Linked DNA regions of Homo sapiens: regions 1 and 2 are each linked to region 3. Evidence: promoter capture Hi-C in human tissues and cell types (Jung and others, 2019). All regions are on one chromosome and are shown on one strand. The core of a region is centred on a gene start or on the middle of the fragment in contact, and the rest is flanking DNA. Distances in the headings are between cores, read along the strand shown.

What was found. The method cuts DNA at HindIII sites, captures the fragments that hold promoters and counts their contacts. A contact is called where the count stands out against the background at its distance.
Region 1: a contact is called between a fragment that was not itself captured here and the fragment with the promoter of GALNT1 in region 3, in 2 of the 25 tissues and cell types used here (mesendoderm cells and thymus).
Region 2: a contact is called between a fragment that was not itself captured here and the fragment with the promoter of GALNT1 in region 3, in 1 of the 25 tissues and cell types used here (mesendoderm cells).

The regions. Positions count from the first base shown.
Region 1 is chr18:35,785,627-35,790,275 of GRCh38, forward strand. No RefSeq gene overlaps it. Among named protein-coding and RNA genes, the nearest start is that of MIR187, 120 kb to the right of the region's middle. The HindIII fragment of the contact is 7,347 bases long and covers 1-4,649 here.
Region 2 is chr18:35,759,197-35,763,866 of GRCh38, forward strand. No RefSeq gene overlaps it. Among named protein-coding and RNA genes, the nearest start is that of MIR187, 140 kb to the right of the region's middle. The HindIII fragment of the contact is 3,837 bases long and covers 58-3,894 here.
Region 3 is chr18:35,578,768-35,583,104 of GRCh38, forward strand. It overlaps GALNT1 (polypeptide N-acetylgalactosaminyltransferase 1), which reads left to right and starts at 2,973. Exons shown (of 12, transcript NM_020474.4): 1 at 2,973-3,095. RefSeq lists a silencer at 2,015-2,714. The HindIII fragment of the contact is 13,517 bases long and covers 1-4,337 here.

The DNA.
Region 1 (4,649 bases), core at 471-2,970, 210 kb after region 3:
AATGAAGTCATTTCAAACCAGTTAGAGGTTTTAAGGGGTGGTACAAGTGTTATTTTCTGGTATTGTGTTGGGAGACCCAAGTCTGTCTCCTCATGGGCTCCTTGAAGGTGATGTGTACACTAGACTCTCAAATCAAAGCAATGGTCTTGGCCTCAAACTTCTACATATTTAATCTTTAATGAGCTCTTCCAGTCCATGGGAAGAGGGTGTAAAGGACTTAGAGCTATAGAACCTAGACTGTGGCTCATAAGTTTCAACTTCCACTAAAAGGAACCAGAGTAGAAAAATGGCTGATTTCATGCCTGGGGCTGAAAGCATACAAGATGAGCCTGGGACACCTTGTCATGCCTGAAAACAAAGAGCTCTTAATGTCTACTAGATTGATGTCAAAATAGACCCCAGAACCAGCCTGAAGAGGTGCCCATTGCCCAAAGACAGGGCCATTTGAATAATGATGGCAGTGTTTTGAAACATACCAAATATATAAAATCTATGAGTTCGTATAGATACTATTTAAAAAATACAAAATAAAACAAAATTAATCAGTTATCTTGGGAAATTGATAAGGTGCAAATTTATTATTCTGGAAATTTATAAAAGGAAGGGAAAAAATTGAGCATTGTTCCTGTTCTTTTCTACAGTCTGTATTTCAAGATAACCAAATAAAGAGAAGAGATAATGTTTCCTCTGTAGAAATCCATTCAAGCTAATAAATGAAGAGGGAAAGAGATGTTTAGAAAATCACCACTTTTCAAATCCCCAGTGAAATAATGGATCTAGGTAGCAATAATTAATGGTTGCTAACCATTAAGTAAAAGTCAATGGAGGATATGATAATGGGTGGATCAGGGTGAAAAACTAAACCCACTGATCAATGTCATAGTCACTGAGGGTGGCAACCAGACTTAGGTGTCTCTCGGGCTGATGCAATCGGAAATACATGGCACCACCTAGGAAGTAATCTTGCATGCATGCATGCACATACACACACACACACAAGCATTAATCTAATAAAGCCTTTGACTAACTCACAGGAGATAGAACTATTGGGGATAGAGGAAGAGATTAACAGACCGTCCCTGGAAGCAGTAAGCCAAATTCAGATATGTGAAAAATTCTGCAGGACAAATGACTCTCTTTCTTCAACAGCCTTATGGTTTTAAAGAAATAGAAGAGGGAAGTGTTAGATCAAAGGAGACTTGAGACAGAGCAGCCAAATGCAGTATGTGGCCCTTGTTTGCATCCTGACTTGAACAAACCAACCTCAAAGTTGTTTTCAAGATAATCAGGGAAGTGAAGATAAGCCAAGTATTAGATACTATTAGGAATTATAATACTTATTTTGTTGAATGTGATGATATTGTGATTAGAGTTTTTAAGGCATTATTTTTAAAACTATATACTGAAGTAGTTGCTCATACAAGTATATGATGTCTAGGATTTGCTTTAAAATACTCCAGCAAAAAATAGAAGTGGGAGAACAGCTGAGACAAGAGTGTTGAAAAGTGGGTCTTTGTGGAAGCAGGTGTGGTCTCTGTGGTTTTACAACCATGTGCCTTCTCCTCCTCATGGGAAGAAGGGCAGATTTGCTTTTTTTAAAAAAAAACTTCCAATTTATCATAGACTAATACTTTTATAAAATACAATAAAAGTGAATTACCAAAAAAATTAAATGATATAAAAAACCAGACATACAAGATGTAAGTCAAAATTTTTCATTGTATTCAACAGACATAAAATTATATTTCAATAAATATAATCAAAACAAACATATCATATAAAAAGAGTAAAGACAAAACTTTTTTTTTTTTTTTTTTTTGGAGGCAGAGTCTCACTCTGTTGCCCAGGCTGGAGTACAGTAGTGCTATCATAGTTTACTGCAGCCTCCAACTCCTGGACTCAGGCGACCCTCCTGCCTCAGCCTCCTGAGAAGCTGGGACTACAGACATGAGCCACCTCACCTGGCCAAGGCAGAAGAGATTTTAAAGCAATTTCAGCAAGCTCAGAATATTCATTTAAAACTGTTATCCAAAAATAAAGCAAATAATGTTATATTTTCAAAATTTGTCTTCAGTCCTTGGTCAGTAGACAGTTTCAATTTATTCTGTAAAGTCACAGTTTCATTTAAATTATCCACATCTATTGATGAAAGAAATAGATTCCAGAACCATAGTTTTCTTATGTGAGCATTGTATCTGATACAAATAAAATTCAAATTTCACAAGTATGCAGGTATACAGTAATAGGCCATCCACTACATTTCTGATTATTGTTGATGAGACAAAACATGTCATAAAAATCTGTAGAAATTCTAATTTTTGGTTTTGCCTTTTGATGTTTTCTTGCATTCCTACCTTACATGAAAATTTAAAGATCATTAAAAATACCTAACAAATACCATATGATCTCACTCATATCTAGAATCTAAAATAAAGTAGAAGCAGAGAGTAGAACAGTGGTTACCAGAGAGTGGGGAGGGGAGAGAGAAGAGGAGAATGTGGAAAGGTTGGTCAATGGGTACAAGGGTACAATAGGCAAGATAAGTCCTAGCATCTATGGCACAGTAGGGTGACCACGGTGAACAGTAAGGTATTGTATATCACAAAATAGCTACAAGAGAGGTTTTTGAATGTTCTTACCATAAAGAAATAAGTACATGAGGTAGTAAACATGCTAAATACACAGATTTGATCATTATACAACACATATGTATCAAAACATCAAATTGTACCTCATAATATGTGCAATTACAAGTGTGTCAATTTAAAAATTAATTAATTAAAAAATAAATTTAAGAGACCTGAGATATCAGAAAAATCAGTAAGTCTGGATGTCCAGTTTACTCTTTAAACACTGGGTCAAATGGATTCCTTATCTTGCGGAAGCGTGATGACTTTGTTCTGTATTTTGTTCCTGACAGACTTCTGCCAAAACGATTGTATCTCAACATGCAGTAAGAGATTATTGTGTTCCACTCACATATTATCACATAAAAGAAGGAAAATCTTTAGTGCATTTGTCTTCATGTAATTCACAAATTCTTGATTCATTACTGGATATACTATTCAGTTCACTGGGGGTCTTTTAGGATTTGTTTTAGTGTTTTTGGTAGCAAGACTTTCTCACGGAATGAAACCATGCATTTGACTTACATTCTGCCACAAACTCCTTAATCTGGATGACTGCTCTCTCTGCTCCAGAATATTCTCCTGTTATTGCAGCTGTCAGAACACAAGAATACTCTCTCCACGCACTTTAAACTCAAAGCCACATTTGTGGACAATGTATTCTTTCATAGGTTGTTGTTGTTGTTGTTGTTGTTGTTTGAGATAGGGTGGTCTTCACTCTGTTGCCCGGGCTGGAGTACAGTGATGTAATCACGGTTCACTGCTGCCTTGGCCTCCCAGGTTCAAATGAGCCTTCCACTTCAGCCTCCCAAGTAGCTAGGACCACAGGTGTGCACCACCACCCTGTTAATTTTTTTAGTTTTTGAAGAGAGAGCGTCCCACTATGCTGTCCAGGCTAGTCCCAAACTTCCAGGCTCAAGGGATCTTCCTGCCTCAGCCTCCCAAAGTGTTGGGATTACAGATATGAGCCACCACACTCAGCCTCTTTCATAGTTTTATGTAGTTCACAGCTAGTTGTGTTGATTGGTAATGGAGCTAAATTCTTCATATCGGCATCGTGTTCAAATTGCACACATACTAGAACTGTACCATTAGCAAACCCACACATTCTTTGAACTGCAGTGAAAAATTCACCAGTTTTATCTGTTCTAAGAGTTGGTTTTCTGTATCACTGGTCAGTTCTTGAGTACATCAAGCTATGTTGTTGAAACATGGGGTTAAAATAACACAGGTTTAAAAATAAATAATTGGACTTTTATTTCTCTAATTTAATAATTTGCTAAACCTAAACCAAACAAGCTTGAATAAAAATTGAAAATAAGAAGTTAGAAAATAAGTAAATGCTTACATTTCTCAGATTTTGATAATTTTGGATTTCAATCATCACACTAAAACTGAAACCATACATGTTGTAACATGTATCTAGCACACAGACTATACCATGCACAATTTGTCATGTAAGTTTCACAAATGCAAACTGGTCCTGCCCTGGAGATGAGTCTAGTGGTCACACACTTGGGTGTCATGGCAGTGTCCGACTGCTGTAGAAGTTACTCAGTGCTTGCTCTAGTTTCCGTACTGATTTTCTCAGGGATCAGGAACAGACTGTGGACAGCATGAGTTCATGGAGCACAGTTTGAGTAGCATGGCATTGTACTATTCTCTGTGCTTTTGAGTGTATATGTTTTTTAATACTGCATAACAAACTATCACAAAATTAACATCTTAAACCCACACACACTTATCTCACAGCTTTCATGGGTTAGGAGTCCAGGTGGGCCTAGCTAGGTCCTTTGCTCATGGTTTCACAAAGCTGCAGTCAAGGTGTCAGTGGGCTGCATTCCCATCTGAAGAATGCAACTTGAAAAGAATGCACTTCAAGCTCCCTCAGGTTTGGAGAACTTCAGCTTCTTACAGTGGTAGGACTGAGGTCCTCAGCTCCTGAGGGCTGCTGCTCCCCTCCAGCGGTTTATAAGACAGCTGTTTGCTTCACTGGGACCAGTAGAAGACAGAGTCTCTTTT
Region 2 (4,670 bases), core at 726-3,225, 180 kb after region 3:
AAAATCCAGAATACAGAATCAACCTAAGTGCCCACTAATGGATGAATGGATAAAGAATATGTACCTATACACAATGGAATATTATTCATCCATAAAAAGAGTGAAATCTTGCCATTTGCAACAACATGGATGGAACTGGAGGCCATTATGTTAAGTGAAATAAGCAAAGCATAGAAAGACAAACACTGCATGTCCTCACTTGTGGGAGCCAAAGAAGAGATCTCATGGAGATGAAGAGTAGATAGGTGGTTACCAGAGGCTGGGGAGGGGGGAGGGGGGAGGGGAGAGGGGAAGGGGGAATGAAGGGGAAAAATAATGTAAATTATTTATCACCACAGAATTTTACACTTAAAATGGTAAAGATGGTGAATTATACATGTATATTTTACCTCAATACACTTTTTTTAAAAAAAAAAGAAAAATCAATTCATCACCAGGAAAGCACAACAATTCTAAATGTATGAGCACTTGAGAATAGAGCTTCAAAATGCAGAAAACAAAAATTGTCAGAATATAAAAGGAGTAGACATGCTGACAATAATACTTGGAGATTGCAACACTCCTTTCTATGTAATATATAGAAATAGTGGCAAGGATAGAATGGAACACTATCAACTAACTTGAATTAAGTCATATTTACAGAACACTACACACTACAACAGCAGACTACACATTCTTTTCAAATGCACATGGAACATTTACAAAGATAGGCCATATTGTGAATAACATATCCAACCTTAAATTTAAAAGCACTGAAATCATACAAAGTATGTTTTCTGACTATAATGGAATTAAACTAGAAATCAATAAGAGAAGGATAACAGGAAAATTTCTAAACAATAAGAAAGCAAACCACACACTTAAAAAAGGGAAATCAGAAAATATATTGAAATGAAAGAAAATAACTATGTAACATATCAAAACTTGTGGGATGTAGCTAAAGTGGGAAGGGAATTTGCTGCATTAAATGATTGTATTACAAAACAAGAAATGTATCAAAACAACAATTTAAGCTTCTGCCATAAGAGACTAGGGAGGAAAAGAGCAAAATAAACCCAAAGTGAACAGGAGGAAGGAAATAATAAACAACAGTGTATTAAGGAAATTGAAGGGGGGGAGGAGCCAAGATGGCCGAATAGGAACAGCTCCGGTCTACAGCTCCCAGCGTGAGCAACGCAGAAGATGGGTGATTTCTGCATTTCCATCTGAGGTACCGGGTTCATCTCACTAGGGAGTGCCAGACAGTGGGCACAGGTCAGTGGGTGCAGCGCACCGTTGCACGAGCCAAAGCAGGGCGAGGCATTGCCTCACTCCGGAAGCGCAAGGGGTCAGGGAGTTCCCTTTCCTAGTCAAAGAAAGGGGTGACAGACGGCACCTGGAAAATCGGGTCACTTCCACCCAAATACTGCGCTTTTCCAACGGGCTTAAATAACGGTGCACCAGGAGATTATATCCCACACCTGGCTCGGAGGGACCTACGCCCACGGAGTCTCGCTGATTGCTAGCATAGCAGTCTGAGATCAAACTGCAAGGCGGCCCCGAGGCTAGGGGAGGGGCGCCCACCATTGCCCAGGCTTGCTTAGGTAAACAAAGCAGTGGGGAAGCTCGAACTGGGTGGAGCCCACCACAGCTCAAGGAGGCCTGCCTGCCTCTGTAGGCTCCACCTCTGGGGGCAGGGCACAGACAAACAAAAAGACAGCGGTAACCTCTGCAGACTTAAATGTCCCTGTCTGACAGCTTTGAAGAGAGCAGTGGTTCTTCCAGAATGCAGCTGGAGATCTGAGAACAGGCAGACTGCCTCCTCAAGTGGGTCCCTGACCCCTGACCCCTGAGCAGCCTAACTGGGAGGCACCCCCAGTAGCGGCAGACTGACACTTCACACGGCCGGGTACTCCTCTGAGACAAAATTTCCAGAGGAACAATCAGACAGCAGCATTCGTGGTTGCCTGATACCCAGGCAAACAGGGTCTGGAGTGGACCTCTAGCAAACTCCAACAGACCTGCAGCTGAGGGTCCTGTCTGTTACAAGGAAAACTAACAAACAGAAAGGACATCCACACCAAAAACCCATCTGTACATCACCATCATCAAAGACCAAAAGTAGATAAAACCACAAAGATGGGGAAAAAATAGAGCAGAAAAACTGGCAACTCTAAAAAGCAGAGCACCTCTCCTCCTCCAAAGGAACGCAGCTCCTCACCAGCAATGGAACAAAGCTGGACAAAGAATGACTTTGACGAGTTGAGAGAAGGCTTCAGACAATCAAACTACAAGCTACAGGAGGAAGTTCAAACCAAAGGCAAAGAAGTTAAAAACTTTGAAAAAAATTTAGACGAATGTATAACTAGAATAACCAATACAGAGAAGTGCTTAAAGGAGCTGATGGAGCTGAAAGCCAAGGCTCGAGAACTACGTGAAGAATGCAGAAGCCTCATGAGCTGATGCAATCAACTGGAAGAAAGGGTATCAGTGATGGAAGATCAAATGAATGAAATGAAGCGAGAAGGGAAGTTTAGAGAAAAAAGAATAAAAAGAAATGAACAAAGCCTCCAAGAAATATGGGACTATGTAAAAAGACCAAATCTACGTCTGATTGGTGTACCTGAAAGTGATGGGGAGAATGGAACCAAGTTGGAAAACACTCTGCAGGATATTATCCAGGAGAACTTCCCCAATCTAGCAAGGCAGGCCAACATTCAGATTCAGGATACTCCTTGAGAAGAACAACTCCAAGACACATAATTGTCAGATTCACCAAAGTTGAAATGAAGGAAAAAATTTTAAGGGCAGCCAGAGAGAAAGGTCAGGTTACCCACAAAGGGAAGCCCATCAGACTAACAGCGGATCTCTCAGCAGAAACTCTACAACCCAGAAGAGAGTGGGGGCCAATATTCAACGTGCTTAAAGAATTTTCAAGCCAGAATTTCATATCCAGCCAAACTAAGCTTCATAAGTGAAGGAGAAATAAAATCCTTCACAGACAAGCAAATGCTAAGAGATTTTGTCACCACCAGGCCTGCCCTAAAAGAGCTCCTGAAGGAAGCACTAAACATGGAAAGGAACAACAAGTACCGGCCGCTGCAAAATCATGCCAAAATGTAAAGACCATCGAGACTAGGAAGAAACTGCATCAACTAATGAGCAAAATAACCAGCTAACATCATAATGACAGGATCAAATTCACACATAACAATATTAACCTTAAATGTAAATGGACTAAATGCTCCAATTAAAAGACACAGACTGGCAAATTGGATAAAGAGTCAAGACCCATCAGTGTGCTGTATTCAGGAAACCCATCTCACATGCAGAGACACACATAGGCTCAAAATAAAAGGATGGAGGAAGATCTACCAAGCAAATGGAAAACAAAAAAAGGCAGGGGTTGCAATCCTAGTCTCTGATAAAACAGACTTTAAACCAACAGAGATCAAAAGAGACAAAGGAGGCCATTACATAATGGTAAAGGGATCAATTCAAAAAGAAGAGCTAACTATCCTAAATATATATGCACCCAATACAGGAGCACCCAGATTCATAAAGCAAGTCCTGAGTGACCTACAAAGAGACTTAGACTCCCACACATTAATAATGGGAGACTTTAACACCCCACTGTCAACATTAGACAGATCAACGAGACAGAGACAGAAAGTTAACAAGGATACACAGGAATTGAACTCAGCTCTGCACCAAGTGGACCTAATAGACATCTACAGAACTCTCCACCCCATAACAACAGAATATACATTTTTTTCAGCACCACACCACACCTATTCCAAAATTGACCACATAGTTGGAAGTAAAGCTCTCCTCAGCAAATGTAAAAGAACAGAAATTATAACAAACTATCTCTCAGACCACAGTGCAATAAAACTAGAACTCAGGATTAAGAAACTTACTCAAAACTGCTCAACTACATGGAAACTGAACAACCTGCTCCTGAATGACTACTGGGTACATAACAAAATGAAGGCAGAAATAAAGATGTTCTTTGAAACCAATGAGAACAAAGACACAACATACCAGAATCTCTGGGACACATTCAAAGCAGTGTGTAGAGGGAAATTTATAGCACTAAATGCCCACAAGAGAAAGCGGGAAAGATCCAAAATTGACACCCTAACATCACAATTAAAAGAACTAGAAAAGCAAGAGCAAACACATTCAAAAGCTAGCAGAAGGCAAGAAATAACTAAAATCAGAGCAGAACTGAAGGAAATAGAGACCAAAAAACCCCTTCAAAAAATTAATGAATCCAGGAGCTGGTTTTTTGAAAGGATCAACAAAATTGATAGACCGCTAGCAAGACTAATAAAGAAAAAAAGAGAGAAGAATCAAATAGACACAATAAAAAATGATAAAGGGGATATCACCACCGATCCCACAGAAATACAAACTACCATCAGAGAATACTACAAACACCTCTATGCAAATAAACTAGAAAATCTAGAAGAAATGGATAAATTCCTCAACACATACACTCTCCCAAGACTAAACCAGGAAGAAGTTGAAATCTCTGAATAGACCAATAACAGGCTCTGAAATTGTGGCAATAATCAATAGCTTACCAACCAAAAAGAGTCCAGGACCAGATGGATTCACAGCCGTATTCTACCAGAGGTACAAGGAGGGACTGGTACCATTCCTTCTGAAACTATTCCAATCAATAG
Region 3 (4,337 bases), core at 1,723-4,222:
CTTGGCAAATCTTGACTTTGTTGTAAAGAATCTAGTTTTTTCCTGCTCTCAAATATGCTTACCCTTTTCTACCCCATTTTCTGTTCTGTTAGCAGGTACAGTGAAGACACATTTTGGAATGAATAGGAGTAGACTTGGATTGTTGAAGGGTAAATGTGCTTGGTTATAAAAACAGTTGTGAAAAGTGCATTTGATTACACGGTAGAATTATGTGCAAACAGCACACAATTTTTCATTTGTCTTACAGGTAGTTTTCATTGCAAAGAACTTGTTGCAAGCAGATTAAAAAGGTACTATTTTCCTGCGCTATTTAATGGTACACAGTTATCTTTTTTTTTAATTGCTTTATTGAGGTAATTGCACATACCATAAAATCCACATTTCAAGTGCACAGTTCAGGTAGTTTTCGTAAATCTACAACCATTACCACAATCCAATTTTAGAACATTTATATCACTGCAAAGAGATCTCTTGTGCCCCTTTGCAGTCATTCCCCATATCTACCCCCAGCTCTAGACCACTGATTATCTGTATCGATTTGCCTTTTCTAGATATCTTACATAGTCAATGTGTCACTTAATGACAGGGGTATGTTTTGGGAAATGCATTGTTAGGCAATTCTGTCATTGTGAGAATATCATACAGTATACTCACAAACCTAGATGGTATAGCCTACTACACACCTAGGCTACATGGTACAGCTTATTGCTCCTAGGCTACAGACCTGTACAGCATGGGACTGTACTGAATACCGCAGGCAATTGTTAACACAATGGTATTTGTGTATCTAAACACAGAAAAGGTAACCCATTGCCCAACGACATTATGAAGGCTACCTCACTTGGTGATAGTAACTTTTCAGCTGCATATAATCTTATGGGACCACCATTGTACAGGTGACCCATCATTGACCGGGGCATGGCTGTAAATAGATCCTACAATACAGGCTCTTACACATCTAGCTTCTTCCACTTAGCTTATCGTTTTTGAGGTTCCTCTATGTTGTATCTTCTATGACTACTTCGTTCCTTTTACTGAGTAGTAGTCCACTGTATGGCATATACTGCATTTTATCCACGCAGCAGTTTCTGGACATTTGGACTGTTTCTACTTCTTGGCTATCATGAATAACACTGTTATTAATATTCATGTACAAGTTACTGTATGAATTTATCTTCAGTTCTCTCAGGCATACGCCTAGGAGTGGAATTGTTGGGTGATAGAATACTTCATGTGTAACTTTTTAAAAAACCTGGAAAACTGTTTTCCAAAGTGGCTGCACCATTTTACATTTCCATAGGCAACGTATGAGGGTTCTAATTTCTCCATCTCTTCACCAACACTGCTATTGTCTGTCTGTCTTTTGTACTACAGCCAGTGTAGTGGGTGTCAAGAACTTCCTTGTTGTGCTTCTAATTTGCATTTCCCTATTAACTAATGATGTTGAACACCTTTTTATGTAATTGTTGATCATTTAAATATCTTTGGTAAAACGTCTATTCAATTGTTTTGCCCATTTAAAATTGGACTATTAGTCTTATTACTGAGTTGTAAGAGTTCTTCATACATTCTGGCTACAAGTCCTTTAACAGATATATGATTTGCCAATCTTTTCTCCCAAGATAAGAGTATTTTTTAACGATGACAACTTTATTCCAAAGTGAAGTTTCCTTGTGGAACAGTAACAGGCTAGTCATGATTGACTTTGTTTCAAAATATTATATAAGTACTTTTAAAATAGTAACTTTTAACTTTTATTTTAGAATACTTGGAAGATGTAGACAAGCAAAAACAGGATACTAAAATTCCAGAGATAATCTTCAGGTTTTTTTTTTTTTTTTTCGGACAGCCTTTTGGTTATGTGAGAGGTAATATAAATTTAAAAGTGGGACCACTTAAATATTAAGTAATCTCTTATTGCAGCTCTTGGTTGGCAAGCAATAAGACACAAACCTCTGAATTATTTAAGTAGAAAATTAATTTATTAAAAGAATGGTTGGTTATGCCTCGCGTGAGTGACAGAGCCAGGGTTTTGTCTTCTATCTTCAGGGCAGGGTACAGCTGGGTATTGGAATTGTACCAAGCAGTGTTTCCCAAGGGGGCACAGAGGGAGGGCCCCTCTCCGGGCACTGTGCGGGAGCCACTTCCCCAAACAGTCCCCGTTCTGCAAGGGCCCCGGCGTTGCTGCCCCCGAGACCCGGGTGCCTGCCCCGGCGGTGCGGGTCGCGGGCCTCCGCTCTCGCCGTCCTCCCTCAGTCCCGGGCCTCCTGCATCGCGGTCGCCAGGCGCAGGCTCAGCGCGGCTGACAGCGCTCCAGCTCCCGCGCTCGCGGCCGCCTCAGGCAGCCGACCGGGTTGGGGCGGCCCCGCGCTCGGCCCGGGAGCCGATCCGCTGTGAGGGCTCCTCCATCTCCTCCCACCCCGTGACCTGCTCGACGCGCAACAGCCCGAGTTGTCTTTAACTTGCTGCGGCAGCCTCTTTGTCCCGACCCAGGGTCGGGGGCACCTCTCGGCCTGGCCCGGCCCTGCCCGTAGCCGTGTGAGCGGGGGCCGGGACTGGGCGGTCGGTCCGGGAGGGGCGCCGCGCCCGACCCCGGAGTCCCGAGCCCGAGGGGAGCGTCGCGGCCCCGCGGTGGGCTCGCCGCAGCGGAGGGGGCGCGCATCCGGGTGAGCGCCGGCGCCCCCGCCTCCCCCGCGCAGCCGCACGGGCCGCCGCCGCCGCTGCCGCCGAGCACGCAGCGCAGGGAGGACCGCGCCCGAGCGCCTGCGGGCGCCCTGCGGCGCCCGCCGCGCGACGAGCCCCAAGTGAGCGGGCAGGCGGCGCGCATGCGGGGCGGCCCGGAGTAGCGCCGCCCGAGCCCGCGAGCGGGGCGCCCGGAGTAGCCGCCGACCCGAGCCGGGCGCGGAGGCGGGGGCGGGCGCGGCGGAGCGGGGCCCGGCCGGACCCGCCCGCCCGCCGGGGGAGCCGCCGGCAGTGGCCGAGGAGCGCGCGGCGGACGGCGGCCCGAGAGTAGCGCGCTGGCCGCGGGACCGGCCGCGACCGCCGCGGCCGGCCCGGAGGACGCCTGCCGCCGCCGCCGCCGCGCGCCTAGCGAGGTGAGTGTATCGCCCGCGGCTGGGCAGTCCCGGAGCCGCAGCGCTGCGCGCGGGTCGGAGGTGGAGAAAGAGGCCCCGCCGCGGCCGCGTCCCCGGTCCCTTTGTGGCCGGCGCTGCCTGGGGCCGGGGCGCGGGCACGCTCGGCGCGGGTTCGGGTCTGGGACCCCGGTGCCGTTGGACACGCGGCGTCTCTGGTTGGCAGCTTTGGCGAGCAGCGAGTTTCCGTCCTAGTTTGACATTGAGTTAGAACCGTTTTTCTTTAGAAGACGGAAGTTTGTTTTATTGACAAAAATAAAGCTAAATATGGCTTCTGGGTTCGGCCGTGTGGTACTTGCAACCGCGGTGCCAGCCTGACCCTCGCGGCGCCACGGGGGAGGGGAAGACACGCCGGCAGCGGGGGAGGGGGCTTCCCGGCCCGCTGCCCCCGAGGAGGACCCGGACCTAAATTAGCAAATGTTTGTGGTTGGGAAGTAGCGGGCTTTAGGTAATGTAGTAGCTTTTCCGCTTTTCCTGGAAGAATGAATGAATGAGATGTCATTTACTCATCCATAATCAATACGTTGCCCATTTAAGCATTTACCAGGAATTGGGATGATTTGCATTGTCATTGCTTCTCTTATCTGGTCAGCCTTGCTAGATGAGGTTCCCTTACTCCCCAGATTTGTGACCTTGTCCTCATTCTCAAAGCCACTGAGCTAACCAACCCGTCTACCAAACTCACTTGGCATTTTTTTGGTCAAGTGGGCAATAGGCAAAGTAGTCTTTCTGAACTGTTTCTGGAGGGCAGAGAATGTCACTTTGATCATATCTTATGTTTAATACATTGCTTTATAATCGTGTCAAGAACGCTGAGAGTTAGGAGGTCTTGTCATTTCACAGATGAAATAGTGAAGGCCCTAAGAAGTTGCAACTTTTCAGGTCACAATCTGAGCAGCAGAGTTGGGATTCAAACCTAGACCTTGTTAGTCCAGTCCTCTTTACATCACATCTGTGTCCAGACCTGGACTGTCCAGCGTGGGAGCCACTAACCACATGTGACTATTAAAATTAAATTTTAAAAATTCAGCTCCTCGGTCACAGTAGCCACATTTCAAGTGTTCCATAGCTAAATGTGGTTCTTTGCTACAGTTGAACAGCCCTGGTCTAAATTATACATACATTTGTTGTGTCAGTAAATATTTACTGAATGCGATCTGTCTATGAGGCACAGTTTTAAGTTCTGGGTACATGGTGAATAAGGGA